Linked DNA regions of Homo sapiens: region 2 is linked to region 1. The links are contacts of gene promoters, found by promoter capture Hi-C in blood cells and fetal thymus (Javierre and others, 2016). All regions are on one chromosome and are shown on one strand. The core of a region is centred on a gene start or on the middle of the fragment in contact, and the rest is flanking DNA. Distances in the headings are between cores, read along the strand shown. Region 1 holds the start of LRRC31 (leucine rich repeat containing 31). Region 2 has its middle 9.0 kb from the start of ACTRT3.

Region 1 (6,701 bases), core at 1,772-4,271:
TAACAGGCAACAGAATTTCCTTTCTTTTTTTAATGAAATAAGACTGTGGAGAAAGAAAAATGCATCTCCCTTTGACAAACAACATTGAAAATATGATTCACTCTGAAACATTACATCAAAAAATGAAAGACTGGCTAGGTGCGGTGGCTCACGCCTGTAATCTCAGCACTATGGGAGGCCGAGGTGGGCGCACCACCTGAGGTCAGGAGTTTGAGACCAGCCTAGTCAACATGGTGAAACCCCGTCTCTACTAAACATACAAAAATTAGCCACGTGTGGTGGCGGATGCTTGTAATCCCAGCTATTTGGGAGGTTGAGGCAGGAGAATCACTTGAACCCAGGAGGCAGAGGTTGCAGTGAGCCAAGATTGCGGCACTGAATTTCAGCCTGGGCAACAGTGAGACTCCATCTCCAAAAAAAAAAAAAAAAAAGAATAAAGAAAGAAAGACCTTTAAAGACATTCCTCAAAAATTTTAAATTATATTAAACCCAAACCTAAGGATTGACAAGAAAGGAAAGGTATTCCTTACTTTTGCAAAAGTAATAAATAAAAAGAGCTTACATGCAAGAGAAATGACGTGTCAAATATGTATTATTACTCTTGAGGCTTCATGGCAAAACCTTAACTATTAAGAATATAGTAAATATGGAAAGTATCTGCTCAATTAATATTGATGAGTTGAATTGAAATATCAGCCATTTCTTATTCCTAAGGGCTCTTAAGTGAATGCTTTTGACCCTGGTAGAAGGGACAAACCCCCAGTTTTTAGCTGCTGTATTGTGGTGGTTGTGCTGTGATCTGCAAATTTTCCCAAATTCCTTTTCCAGGGATTTCCTTTATAAAGTCCAGTTCAGGGATAAGGAGGAAGCGGAAGGTTTACTGAAGCTAAGATTTTAAAGATGGACTTGGTTTGGGAAGCCTGAGGGCTTATTAAAGTTTTTATATAAAGAGGAATTTCCCAGACATATTTTCAAGAAAAAATTATTATTATTTTTAAATATGAGTATGGTAACCTAGCACTTAACTACTATACATGAAGAAATGTGCAAATGCTTCCCCCTTTTCATTCAAAAGCCTTCCTTCCTCTGGCATGGTCCTTTCTTGTTGCCTTATTAGCCTCCTGGTTGCTTTCTATTCTCCTGTTCCTTTCCTCTCCTTCACATCCTCTTCTGTTCCTTGGTTCTTGTGTTTCTTGGCTTCCTGGCTCCCCTGTTCCTTAGTGTACTGATCTTCACAGAGAACTGGCTGGGCCTCAGAAGCTGGGTGTGGTTTCACCTGGGTAAATTACCACATCCTGGAGCACCCTCCAGCACTGTTTTCTTAGGACTTGGGGAGTTGGAGTCAGTGCATTTGGGGGGAGGATAAAAAAGTGAAACCATTTACTGAGCTAGCTCCCCAGAGAATAGCCCTGTCTAAATCTCCAAATGGTGAAATTGGCTGAAAATGACCATGGAGGTGTCCTGGGTGGGGGGCCAGAAGAGTAGCAAATTGAGAAAGGCCTGGGGTGATGGTGGAATCAGGGTGAGGCAGCCAGGGCTGCAGGTCATGTTTAGATTTATGAGTTAGCGCCCCTTTCCTTCTTCTTTTCCACCTAACCCCCTGAGACTCTAGTCAGCTGTGCTGCTGTGCATGGAGTAATTGTTTAGTTCCACTGCTGTCTGTTGCTGGGTAAACCAGGGCTGGGCCCTGCTCTAATATGAAAGGAAGATTTTAAAAGAAAAATGGAATGTCCAATTGTGACTTCCAAAGCAGTGCTCCAAGTGCATGGAACATTCCAGCCCTCACGAGTGGAGGTGGGCTCTGCAAGGTCCATTTTTAGGATTCCCTGTGTAAAATGTTTCTTGGACCATTCTGGAACATAATGTTACAGAAAGAGCTATTTTATTAGAGAGGAGACTATGAAAACTGTAATTTCAAGAATACTTCTGCTGGGCATGATGGTTCACACCTTTAAGCCCAGCACTTTGGGAGGTCGAGGTGGGCGGATCACTTGAGGCCAGAAATTCAAGACGAGCCTGGCCAACATGGTGAAAATCCATCTCTATGTCAAAACAAAACAAAACACTTCTGTGTATCCCTTTAGTTTAAGTCCTTAGCCCTCCCATAAAATATAAGCAAATTTCAGGAGAGATAATAGATTGACCTTTACGAATCCTTTTTAGCTTCAATTCATACCAGACCTCACCCCTAACCTCCACACCCCCTGACCCACATCCCCACCTCCAATGCTAGGCTCTTCCAGCCGTTCCTGCCTGGGAGCTCTTGAGCTTACCCTTTCTTCTGCCTGGGATACTCTTCCCTCTCTTAAAAAGCTAACTCGCAGTCCTTCAAAACCCAGGCAATGTCACTCACTGTTCCAAGTCTGTTCTCCAAGGCATGCTTAGTTTACTGTGGGTTCCCTGACCACCTCCCATCTCTTGGCTCTTGTCCCACTCAATCAATGGCATACAGGTCCATCTTCCCACCAGGTTAAGATCCCATCAAAGACAAGAACTGTCTCTTGTTCGTCATTGAATCTTTTGCATTTAGAACATTAACTGGCCCACAGTAGATTCTTTAAAACTATTTATGGAATGAATGAATTCTTTACTGCCAACATGTTTCAGTGGGGTGGTGGTGCAGGGTTGGGGGTAGAGAAAATATGAATATGCAAAGAGAAAAAGGAGCTTATGTGCAAAGGAAGGAGGTGGGGGTCACCAGAAGGCAGAGGTCGCTGAAGGCAAACTCCTCTGGGGACAGCTTTGCAAATGGCCAGTCCCTTTTAAAGGCATATTAAGTCTTCAGGTAACTAATTGACAGCTGTAATTTAAGATGTGTTGACACACTTGATGTGCTTGCCAAAGTCATGCTTAATGACTTGTATCTCACACAATGAAATAGGGCAAAGTTAAAAACTCAAATTGCTTTGAGTTTGTATTGGCTTCTGGATCCTGGGTTACATCATTCTTATTTTCATGTTAAACATTAACAGCAATAAAAAAACAGAAAAAGAAAGGTGGTGCGGCAGGGAGTGGGGGGCAGTCATGTAGGGGAGGATATTTTGATTGAACACAGGCTTGACAGAATCTTCTTTTCTTCTTAGAAATCCTAGAAAACAGAAAGCAACAGGAAGATGTCTTATTGGGAACTACCCCCATCAACTTCACCATGAGTCAAACAAGGAAGAAAACTTCCTCAGAAGGAGAAACTAAGCCCCAGACTTCAACTGTCAACAAATTTCTCAGGGGCTCCAATGCTGAAAGCAGAAAAGAGGACAATGACCTTAAAACAAGTGATTCCCAACCCAGCGACTGGATACAGAAGACAGCCACCTCAGAGACTGGTAAGCTGCTGGCTGCTGGTGTTTTTGCTGTTGTATTTGTTTTGTTTTTACTTCCACATTTAAAATATTTTTATTTTTAATTTTTGTGGGTACATAGTAGGTGTATATATTTATGGGGTATATGAGATGTTTCAATACAGGCATGCAATGCCTAATAATCATATTGTGGAGAATGGGGTATCCATCCCCTCAAGCATTTATCCTTTGTGTTACAAACAATCCCATTATACCTTTAGTTTTATTTATTTATTTATTTATTTTGAGACAGAGTTTCACTCTTGTCACCCAGGCTGGAGTGCAATGGCGTGATCTCAGCTCATAGTAACCTCTGCCTCCCGGGTTCAAGCGATTCTCCTGCCTCAGCCTCCCGAGTAGCTGGGATTACAGATGCGCACCACCATGCCCAGCTAATTTTTGTGTTTTTAGTAGAGATGGGGTTTCACTGCATTGGCCAGGGTGGTCTCGAATTCCTGACCTCAGGTGATTTTCCTGCCTTGGCCTCCCAAACTGCTGGGATTACAGGTGTAAGCCATCACACCAGGCCTCTTTTAGTTATTTTTAAATGTGCAATAAATTATTGCACATTTAAAAATAACTAAAAGAGCACAACGGGTTGTTTGTAAACAAAGGATAAATATAGTCACCCTGTTGTGCTATCAAACAGTAGATCTTATATATTCTATTTTTTCTGTACCCATTAACCATCCACACCTCCCCCACCAACAACACACACACCCTTCCCAGCCTCTATGTTTCTTTATTTTTTAGAGTTTTCTTCTAAAGTGATCTTATGGGTTAAACTAAAGACTTTAAGACTTTTGAGACTAAAGACTCAACTATGAGTCTCTGTGCTAATCATTTATTATGTTACTTACATGCTTTAAATGATTCATAATTTTACTTTTAAATTGTTAAAAGCAATATAACACTACAGAAAAATGTAGGGAAAATACTGAATTTCCTTTCATTATAACACAAACGATCATTTCTTTAAGATTCTTTTCAGTCTTTTCTTTTCATATGCATGCATTTATGTTCTGTCAGTCAGCAGTCAATAAATCTTTATTGAGTGCTTGCTATGTAGTAACCCCTGCTCTAAGTGTTAGAAATACAGCCATGAAAAGGACCAAATGCAGATATAACTTCAGGTGGTGATAAGTGATATGAAGAAAAATAATGCAGGCTAAGGAGACAAAGAATGATGGGATGGGGTGCTATTTAGATGGGGGTGGAGGAAAGAAGTCTTCGATTTGGAGGCATTTGAGCAGCAATCTGAATAAAATCAGCTTTGCTGAATGAATGAATAAAGCGAGCCACTTAGGTATTTGTGCAAATAGCTTTCCAGGCAAAGAGACTGTACATGCAAAGGCTTTAGATACGACTGAGCCTAGAGTGCTTGAGAGAGAGTCAGGAAGTCAGGGATGCTAAAGCAGGATGGGAGACATGGAGAGGAAGGGGTAGTGGAAGACAAGTCAGAGAGGTCGCTGGGGCCAGATTGGCATCTTTTCCACAGTTGTAATAGCTTACAGATTCCTCCTGAGTTTATGTGGAGCTGTGATCCTACTTCTAGAACATATTATTATATTGCTCAATTCCCACATTGCTACATGATGCTCATATGCATAATTTTCATGGTTGCATAATATTCCATCACATTCATATGTCTTAATTACTCAGTGAGTTCCTTGTTTGTCCTTCGGTGAGTATCTTTGGCTTTCTTTCTTTCCCATTCCCTGTTTCACCATATTTCAGCTATTTTTAAAGTATAAATTTCCAGAACAGGGATTGCAAATTCAAGGGTTATGAAAATAAATATTGTCAAATCTCTCTCTAAAGTTATGTGTTATGTGCAATGTCATCAATATATTATCTATTAGATTAAAAGCATTTTAAAAACATTTTAAGCATATGCAAAAATAGAATAAAGAATCCCCATAGTCACCTACTTTTAGTAATTATCAGTTGGGCATGGTGTTTCATGCCTGTAATCCCAGCACTTTGGCAAGCTGAGGCAGGAGGATCGCTTAAGGCCAGTAGTTTAAGACCAGCCTGGGCAATATAGCAAGACTCTGTCTTGGTCGGGTGCGGTGGCTCATGCCTGTAATCCCAACACTTTGGGAGGCCGAGGCAGGCATATCATGAGGTCAGGAGATCGAGACCATCCTGGCTAATACGGTAAAACCCAGTCTCTATTAAAAATATAAAAAAGTAGCCGGGTGTGGTAGCAGGTGCCTGTAATCCCAGCTACTCGGGAGGCTGAGGCAGGAGAATCGCTTGAATCCGGGAGGTGGAGGTTTCAGTGAGCCAAGATTGCACCACTGCGCCACTGCACTCCAGTCTGGGCGACAGAGCAAGACTCTGTCTCAAAAAAAAAAAAAAAAAAAAAGACTCCATCTCTAGAAAATAGTTTAAAAATTAGCTGGGCATGGTGGTGCATGCCTGTGGTCCTAGCTACTCTGGAGGCTGAGGTGGGAGGATCGCTTGAATTTTAGAGGTTGAAGCTGTGGTAAGCCATGATTGCACCACTGGACTCCAGGCTGAGTGACAGAGCAAGACCCTCAAAAAAAAAAAAACAAACAAACAAACAAAAAAAACCCATGGCCAATTTTCTTTCTGAGACAGAAAAAAAAAAAATCAACCCATGGCCGATTTTGTTTCTTTCTTTCTTTTTGAGACAGAGTTTCGCACCGTCACCCAGTCTGGAGTGCAGCAGTGTGATCTCGGCTCACTGCAACCTCTGCCTCCCAGGTTCAAGTGATTCTCTTGTCTCAGCCTCCCAAGTAGCTGGAACTACAGGTGTCCGCCACCATGCCCAGCTAATTTTTTTGTATTTTTAGTAGAGAAGGAATTTCACCTTGTGGGCCAGGCTGATCTCGAAGTCCTGACCTTAGGTGATCTGCCTGCCTTGGCCTCCCAAAGTACTGGGATTACAGGCCTGGCCAGGAGCCACTGTGCCTAGCCAATTTTATATCATTTATACCTACCCTCCCTTCCATCAGATTGTTTGCCATCAAATGCCAAAAATAATACAGTTTTAGCAGCAAGTAGATTAAATGTATTTTAAGTATGTTTTTATAAATAGGAAATTAAAGTCTGTCTTTAAAAGAAAACCATCTCTATCAGAAAATTGTTCATTTTTGTTCTAGAGTGTGATTTAGAGCATCAGGAAAGAAGATAATGAATAAATGTAATTGTGATTAAATTAACAGTGCAAAACCAAGCCGGGGTCATCCCTGCTGTGCAACACTGACCACCCAAGCTGCTTGGTTCTTCATTTCTATTTCTCCCAAAATTCTATGGCTCCTGGAGTCATGTTAATTCTGTCCTTAAATAGCTCTCCCACCTGGTTCTTCCTCTCCATTGCTGCTGCCTAGCTCT
Region 2 (6,348 bases), core at 2,800-5,299, 110 kb after region 1:
TAGGTCCCCTGGAATTGTCTAGCAGATACATTTCTTAGCACTATTAGAATTAAGAAATGTAAAAAAACCTCTAGAGTCCACTGTTGCTGGTAATGTTCTCTAAATAAGGAAAAATATTTTTCCTATCAGCATGGTTTTGTGGAAAAGTAAGGAATGATTTTGCCAAGAACTTGTCTAGAGTCTTGAGGAAGTAGCTCAGCTTCAGTAAGCCTCAGTTTACTCAAGGTGATCTAAGATCGCTTTTTCTTCTCTTTCTTTTGAGACGGAGTCCCACTCTGTCACCCAGAGCTGGAGTGCAGTGTCCCCATCTTGGCTCACTGCAACCTCTGCCTCCTCGGTTTCTAGCGATTTTCTCTCAGCCTCCCAAGTAGCTGGGTTTACAGGCACACACCACCATACCCGGCTGATTTTTTTGTATTTTCAGTAAAGTTGGGCAGGCTGGCCTCGAACTCCTGACCTCAGGTGATCCGCCCGCTTCTGCCTCCCAAAGTGCTGGGATTACAGGCGTGAGCCACCGTGCGGGGACTAAGATCCCTTTTGCAAGGGCGGGGACTCCTTGAACTACAGACAAGTGCATGTCTTTTGTTCTTACTCCATCTAGTGGTACTTTTGCTTCTCCACATTTACAACATTTGTGGTGGTGCAGGGCCGTGAAGCAAGAATGGCCACAGACTGGGAATGTTTTTCTTTCATTTTTAAAAAGAAAACAGTGATTTAATACATTCAATTTAAAAATAAGTCCATAGTTGTTTTCTAGCTCATATTTGAAGTCGTCCCTCTGACATGTCTATTACAAACAGTCCAAAGGACAATTCTTAGTATTATAAACATTAAATATATTGTTTCTTTTTGGTAAAATGATTAAGTTATATAATTCTAGAGTAAAGACGGCCAGTCATCCTGGATGACCATACAGGTCATCCAGTGAGATAATTTATGTGAAAACTTTCTGTACATAATAATTATTGCAAAAGTGACTTCTTACTGCCACCGATTTGAGTGACTCTAGCAGATGAAGAAACTGCTGCGGAGAGGGGTTTTAGTTACTTGCCTAAGTTATTTACTTGCCTAAGTTAATTTTTTTGCAGAGTTGTGACCAGAAGCTAGGCTTCCCAAGTTCTAGTCCAGTGTTCTGTTCACTGTATTGCACCCTAAGTCTTTGTTGGTTAACCTGGGGCAGATGGTTAGCATTAACTCCATCGTCACTTTCTGGTTTAAAATAAAATAACCTCCTTAATGGTTGTAACCTTGGTTTCCACCCCACATCCACTCCCGCCCTAATACTCTTCGATGTGATTTTGTGCTGTGTGTGTTTCACTTTTTTACAAGTACAGTTGATTCTAGTTATTTGCAGTAGTTACATTCTGTGAAGCCTCTGTGAACACTGGATTAGTGAATACTGAACCATTGCTCCCAGAGGAATTACGGGATTAGGTTCCTGGGAACATTCGGTCACAACATTTTTGTCAAAGAATCGATACATAATCTTGTGTGTGTTTCTGTTAAAGACATCCTAAAGTATGTTGTTGATTCATTAGCACTGAACTCATATTCAACAACACTATCACTTAAGCCTGAATGAAGGCTAACACAAGTATTTTTTTTCTGTAAGACACATCACAGCTTTCTTGTGCTTAGGAACGCTAGACAGCACTTAAGCACTATGATTGGGGGTCATTTTAAACAGCACAGTCACCAACTAAAAGCATACAAATGTGAAAAACTTGCCATTAAATAGACCAGAAATAGGACACTTGTTTATAGTGTCCTTTTTGGACTACAAAGGCAAAAGAGAACCTATGTGTTGGGGAAATCAAACTTTTCAGGGCTCTGCACATGCCCATGAATGACTATGAAAGCACTGCAGGTATTGCTTTTGAGATTATAAACAATTTCGGTGACTAGGTGAATCCACAAATACAGAATCTATGAATATTGAGGGTTGACTGTACTTCAAGGTCTATGTGACAGCTGTATCTGAGAGAGACTACAGATGTCCACATGGTTCCTGAGGTACTTAGGGCTTGTTTCATGCCTTTTATATTATTTAAACCAGTGATTCTCAAAGGGGTATAGTGAGAGAAAGGGTATATGAAGTTTGCAAATGACGATACTTGTTCTCTTTATTTTGTTACTTAGGTTGTATTTCACATGAAGGATGTGAGAATTTTATGCGTATGAAGGAAGCATTAGCTTTAAAAATACTGAGAAACATGCTTTTTCTTTTGTCCTTCAGAATGAGGGGCTTCCTTTGTAAGGTCTGGAGTTGGTTATGGGTTTTGACTCTGAGGATGACATTGAGTTTTAATTCAGCTTGTCCTGGTTCTGCAGTCAAAAATTCCATGTTAGCCTGGCTCGAGACTTAAGAGACAAATAGATGGCACAGGCACAAGCGTGTGTACACATGCACCCACCGTCATACAAAGTGTAAGGGAGGAGTGGTTTTAAATAAGATGAGAATGAAGTGACAAAAGGTAACTGTCATTCCTTCATGTTCATTCTTTTAAGGTAATAATATGTGATGGAAGTAAAAACAGCGAAAATACCCAAGAATTAGCCCAGGATATGCAAATTTAAATGTCTGCAGTGGACAGAAAGGAAACAAAGAAGTGAATCACACTGGGAATAAGAAAATGGAGACTATAGAGATGGTAGGGAGAATGAGCTTCCCTTTTTAAGGAGGCAGCAATCTTACAGAAATTGAGCCTAAAATTGTCAGTATTGCAAGAGAAGACAAAAATTCAGATTTTTATGTCAACACCACTGATTATAGAATGTTGGTAGCTAAATTGAAATAAAATTTAAATATTATATAAGTGCATGGTAAAGAATTTGGATGGCTTTTGTTCCTGAACCCTGGGAAGTAGCCTCTAAACCCTTGGAATTCACCAAGAATGGTGGGAGTGTCTTTTCTTGGTAGGCCTCTTGGACTAGACCCAATAGTTTACACTAACGAGATGACTCATGACTGGGGGTTGGTCAGCCATGTGATTAGAGTGTTGGGGCTTTGGGCCCCATGATACTAGCCCGACCTCTTGAGAGACTTGGAGCCACATGTCTGAGCCTTATGACTAGTGATTCATCCAATCATGCCTGTAATGAAGCCCCAATAAAAACTCTGGACACACTGAAGCTTGGATGAACGTCCGTGGTTGGCAGTACTCAGTGTGCTAGGAGGAAAATGTGTCCCTGAGGACATGAGGAGAGGGACAATGGAACCTTCTTTCTGGGACCCTCCCAGACCTCACTCTATGTGTCTCTCCCTTTGGCTGGTTTTGATTTGAATCCTTTTGCTATAATAAAACCATAATAATAACTATAATAAACATCCTTTTGCTATGATAAAACTGTAATAAAACCGAAATAACACTTTCCTGAGTTCTCTAAGTCATTCTACTGAATTATGAAACTTGAAGGGGTAGTGGGAACCCCTAAATTTGTAGGCAGCTTGTCAGATGTAAGGATGGCCTGGGGACCTCCTAGCTTAGGTTGTTGATAGCTGAAGTCATTGCAATGCACCAATAAAAAAACGTTTTGAGATAAAATCTGGTCTATTATAGGCTATTAATTTGCGACCTTTGGCCTAGGCAAATTTAAGCATTCCTGAGTGCTTTCTCTAGAAGGGTGAGGGTTTGGACCATCCTACCAGTTTGAGGCCTACCCAAAATAAATGTATTTGAGAGGAGTTTACACTGGTGGTATCTGTTATAGGTTTCTGGGAATATCACTAAAGAGAAGTTTCAAAATTAAATTTTAATAATATTCTGAAAATAGTAGTGCTAATCCTTCACGTATAGGGGTTAGGGTATTTCTTCCAGTGGTTCTGCCTGAGGGGTGGGCCTGTTTTTCAGTGTCCATTCTGTCAGTCGTTATGGGATGTGAAGAGGGTTCCAAGGGTTCCACCATCACTAGGTGGAAATGAGGCAACTTTTCCCATATTTTTCCTTTACTCTGGTTTGTATCTCCCCTCCTAGGTAGGTATCAAAGTATATATGGTCTTCATTTGTGTTGCCTCAAATTCTCATTTCTTCCTTGATATAAAAAGGAAACAGGAAGACATTGAAATAAGGATATTATTGTGGTCCTGTACTTTTACCCTGTTCTAACCTAGCTGAGGGAATCTAGCATAAGTCACCCAACTTTACATTCCACATGTGTCAACCGGATGTACTAAGACTTCCCTTGAAGGGTGGTTGTGGGGAGAATATATGAGTAATATATATGACAGCAACTGGTATTATTAATGAGAGGAGAAGTCTGTCTTACTCTTTACTTTGCAAGTAATGATTTTACAGCGCTCTGATGGGTATGTTGTAGTTACTCTGGCAGGAAGTGGTTTTGACTTGGGTATATAGTTAAGAGATATATGGAGAAGGGTGGAAGTGCTAATGGTTTGTGAATTTTTAAAATAACACCAATTATGAACTTGATGCACACCTGCAGCTAGAATCTTTCTCTAGATGATGTTTGACTATCATTTTTTTTTTTTTTTTTGTCTTGGGGCTCTAGGTTTTCACTTTGGTGATATTTATGTGTGTACTATGGCTGTCTATATAAGTGTTAAAAGGCATAATTATAGTTATTAAAAACAATTTAAGGAAAACAGAAAAATGCAATAATGAAGAAATACAAATACTGACTTTTTTGTATGATCAATGAGGATATTATAACTAAAATGAAAAACATTATACATATCAGTTGCAAAAACAGTTACATTCCCCACAATCTTTTTAAAAAATGCGAGTAGTTTGCTAAAGTGAACTGGGTGACTTATTTTCAACCTTGGAAGAAAAACTCAATTAAAGCTACATTTGAACTGTAATGGCACCAAGGAGTTCAACTTGACCTCATATGCCAGATTATAATCATCTTTCAAGTGTACAAACAAGGAAGCATAGTTATCAAAGAATGAGAAATACGTTTGTTCAAAGACCATTTACTGCTTTAACAAGAGGTGAAAGCTTGCCAGAAATATATAAACACCTACCCCAGTGCTATTCATAGGCTTAACATGTTCAAAGACTTGGGGGCGGAGGGGGGGCAATTTAAAAATATCTTTGAAGTTGTGGGTATTCATCATCATATCTAATAATGCTTACTTTCTAGAGCCCCTCTCCAAGGAGGGCAAAGCAATTTATCTGACTTATTTTCATGACATCCTTGTGAGATAAGGCAACCACCATTATCTCCCTTCTGCAAATGGAGAAACTGAAACGTTGGGAGGTAAAATCACTTGAAGAAGGTCAGTAGCAGGCCTAAGAATGTAAATACACGCATTTTAGCTTTTAACTGCTATTTTACTTTACAGAAAACTAAACAAACAAAAAATAATTTTAAAAAAATCACATACTTTTTCATTCTCTTTTTAAGTTAAAGAATAATTACTCATCTATCAACTTTTCCTTGGTAAGGAAAACAGTTTAAATGGCTTTTCACAATAACTGGAATCTTATTATACTGGAATGAATGAACCACTTGCAAAGTTGTGATGTTCATTTAACAAACACTAAATACCTAGTCTGCAACATGTTGTATTGTTCAGGGTGTTGAGACTTCAAAGGTGAAACATATATTCCTCATCTTTAAAGGTCTTCCTGGAGAGAGAGATTCTATAAGCAAATTATATGGTGCAGTCTCATGTTATTTAAATTTACTAAATTCATCATTTTATCCCCCAAATCTATTTTTTCTTCCCTTTCCCCTTCCCGTAAATGCTACTGCTACACCCAGGAGCTAAAACCAGTCTTCTGGGCACCACTGCTGATGTCTCATTTTCCCCGCACCCTGCCGTGTCCTCTGGTCTATTTTTTTTTTTTTTGAGATTGGGTCTTGCTCTGTTTCCCAGGCTGGAGTGCAGTGGTGTGACATAGCTCACTGCAGCCCTGAGGCTGAGGTGCGAGGGTCACTTGAGCCCAGGAGTTAGCACAGAGGCAAATGCTAAGTAATCTAATTAATAATGCTTTCTAATTTTTTCAGTTACAAAATTAATGTGACAATATCATAAAAAAAGGTGAGAAATAGAGGGACTACAGATGTGCACCGCCAGCCTAATTTTTAAAATAATTTTTTTGAGAGTCAGGAGCTTGCTATATTGCCCAGGCTGGTCTTGAACTCTTGGCCTCAAGTGATCCTCCCACTTTGGCTTCATTTCTACTACCTTAATCTAGTTCACTATCTTTTTTTTTTTTTTTTTTTTTTTTTGGAGAGAGAGTCTTGTTCTGTTGCCCAGGCTGGAGTGCAATGGTGTGATTTTGGCTTACTGCAACCTCCACCTCCCAGGTTCAAGTGATTCTCCTGCCTCAGCCTCCCAAGGAACTGGGATTACAGGCACGTGCCACAACGCCCAGC

The links. Contacts are between HindIII fragments. The CHiCAGO score rates a contact against its expected background, and 5 or more counts as called.
Region 2: a contact is called between a fragment that was not itself captured here and the fragment with the promoter of LRRC31 in region 1, in 2 of 17 cell types (total B cells and naive B cells). The highest score is 6.7, in total B cells.

Annotation. Positions count from the first base shown.
Region 1 is chr3:169,866,255-169,872,955 of GRCh38, reverse strand. It overlaps LRRC31 (leucine rich repeat containing 31), which reads left to right and starts at 3,021. Exons shown (of 9, transcript NM_024727.4): 1 at 3,021-3,323. The coding sequence starts at 3,149. The HindIII fragment of the contact is 9,706 bases long and covers 1-6,701 here.
Region 2 is chr3:169,757,350-169,763,697 of GRCh38, reverse strand. No RefSeq gene overlaps it. Among named protein-coding and RNA genes, the nearest start is that of ACTRT3, 9.0 kb to the left of the region's middle. The HindIII fragment of the contact is 1,828 bases long and covers 3,136-4,963 here.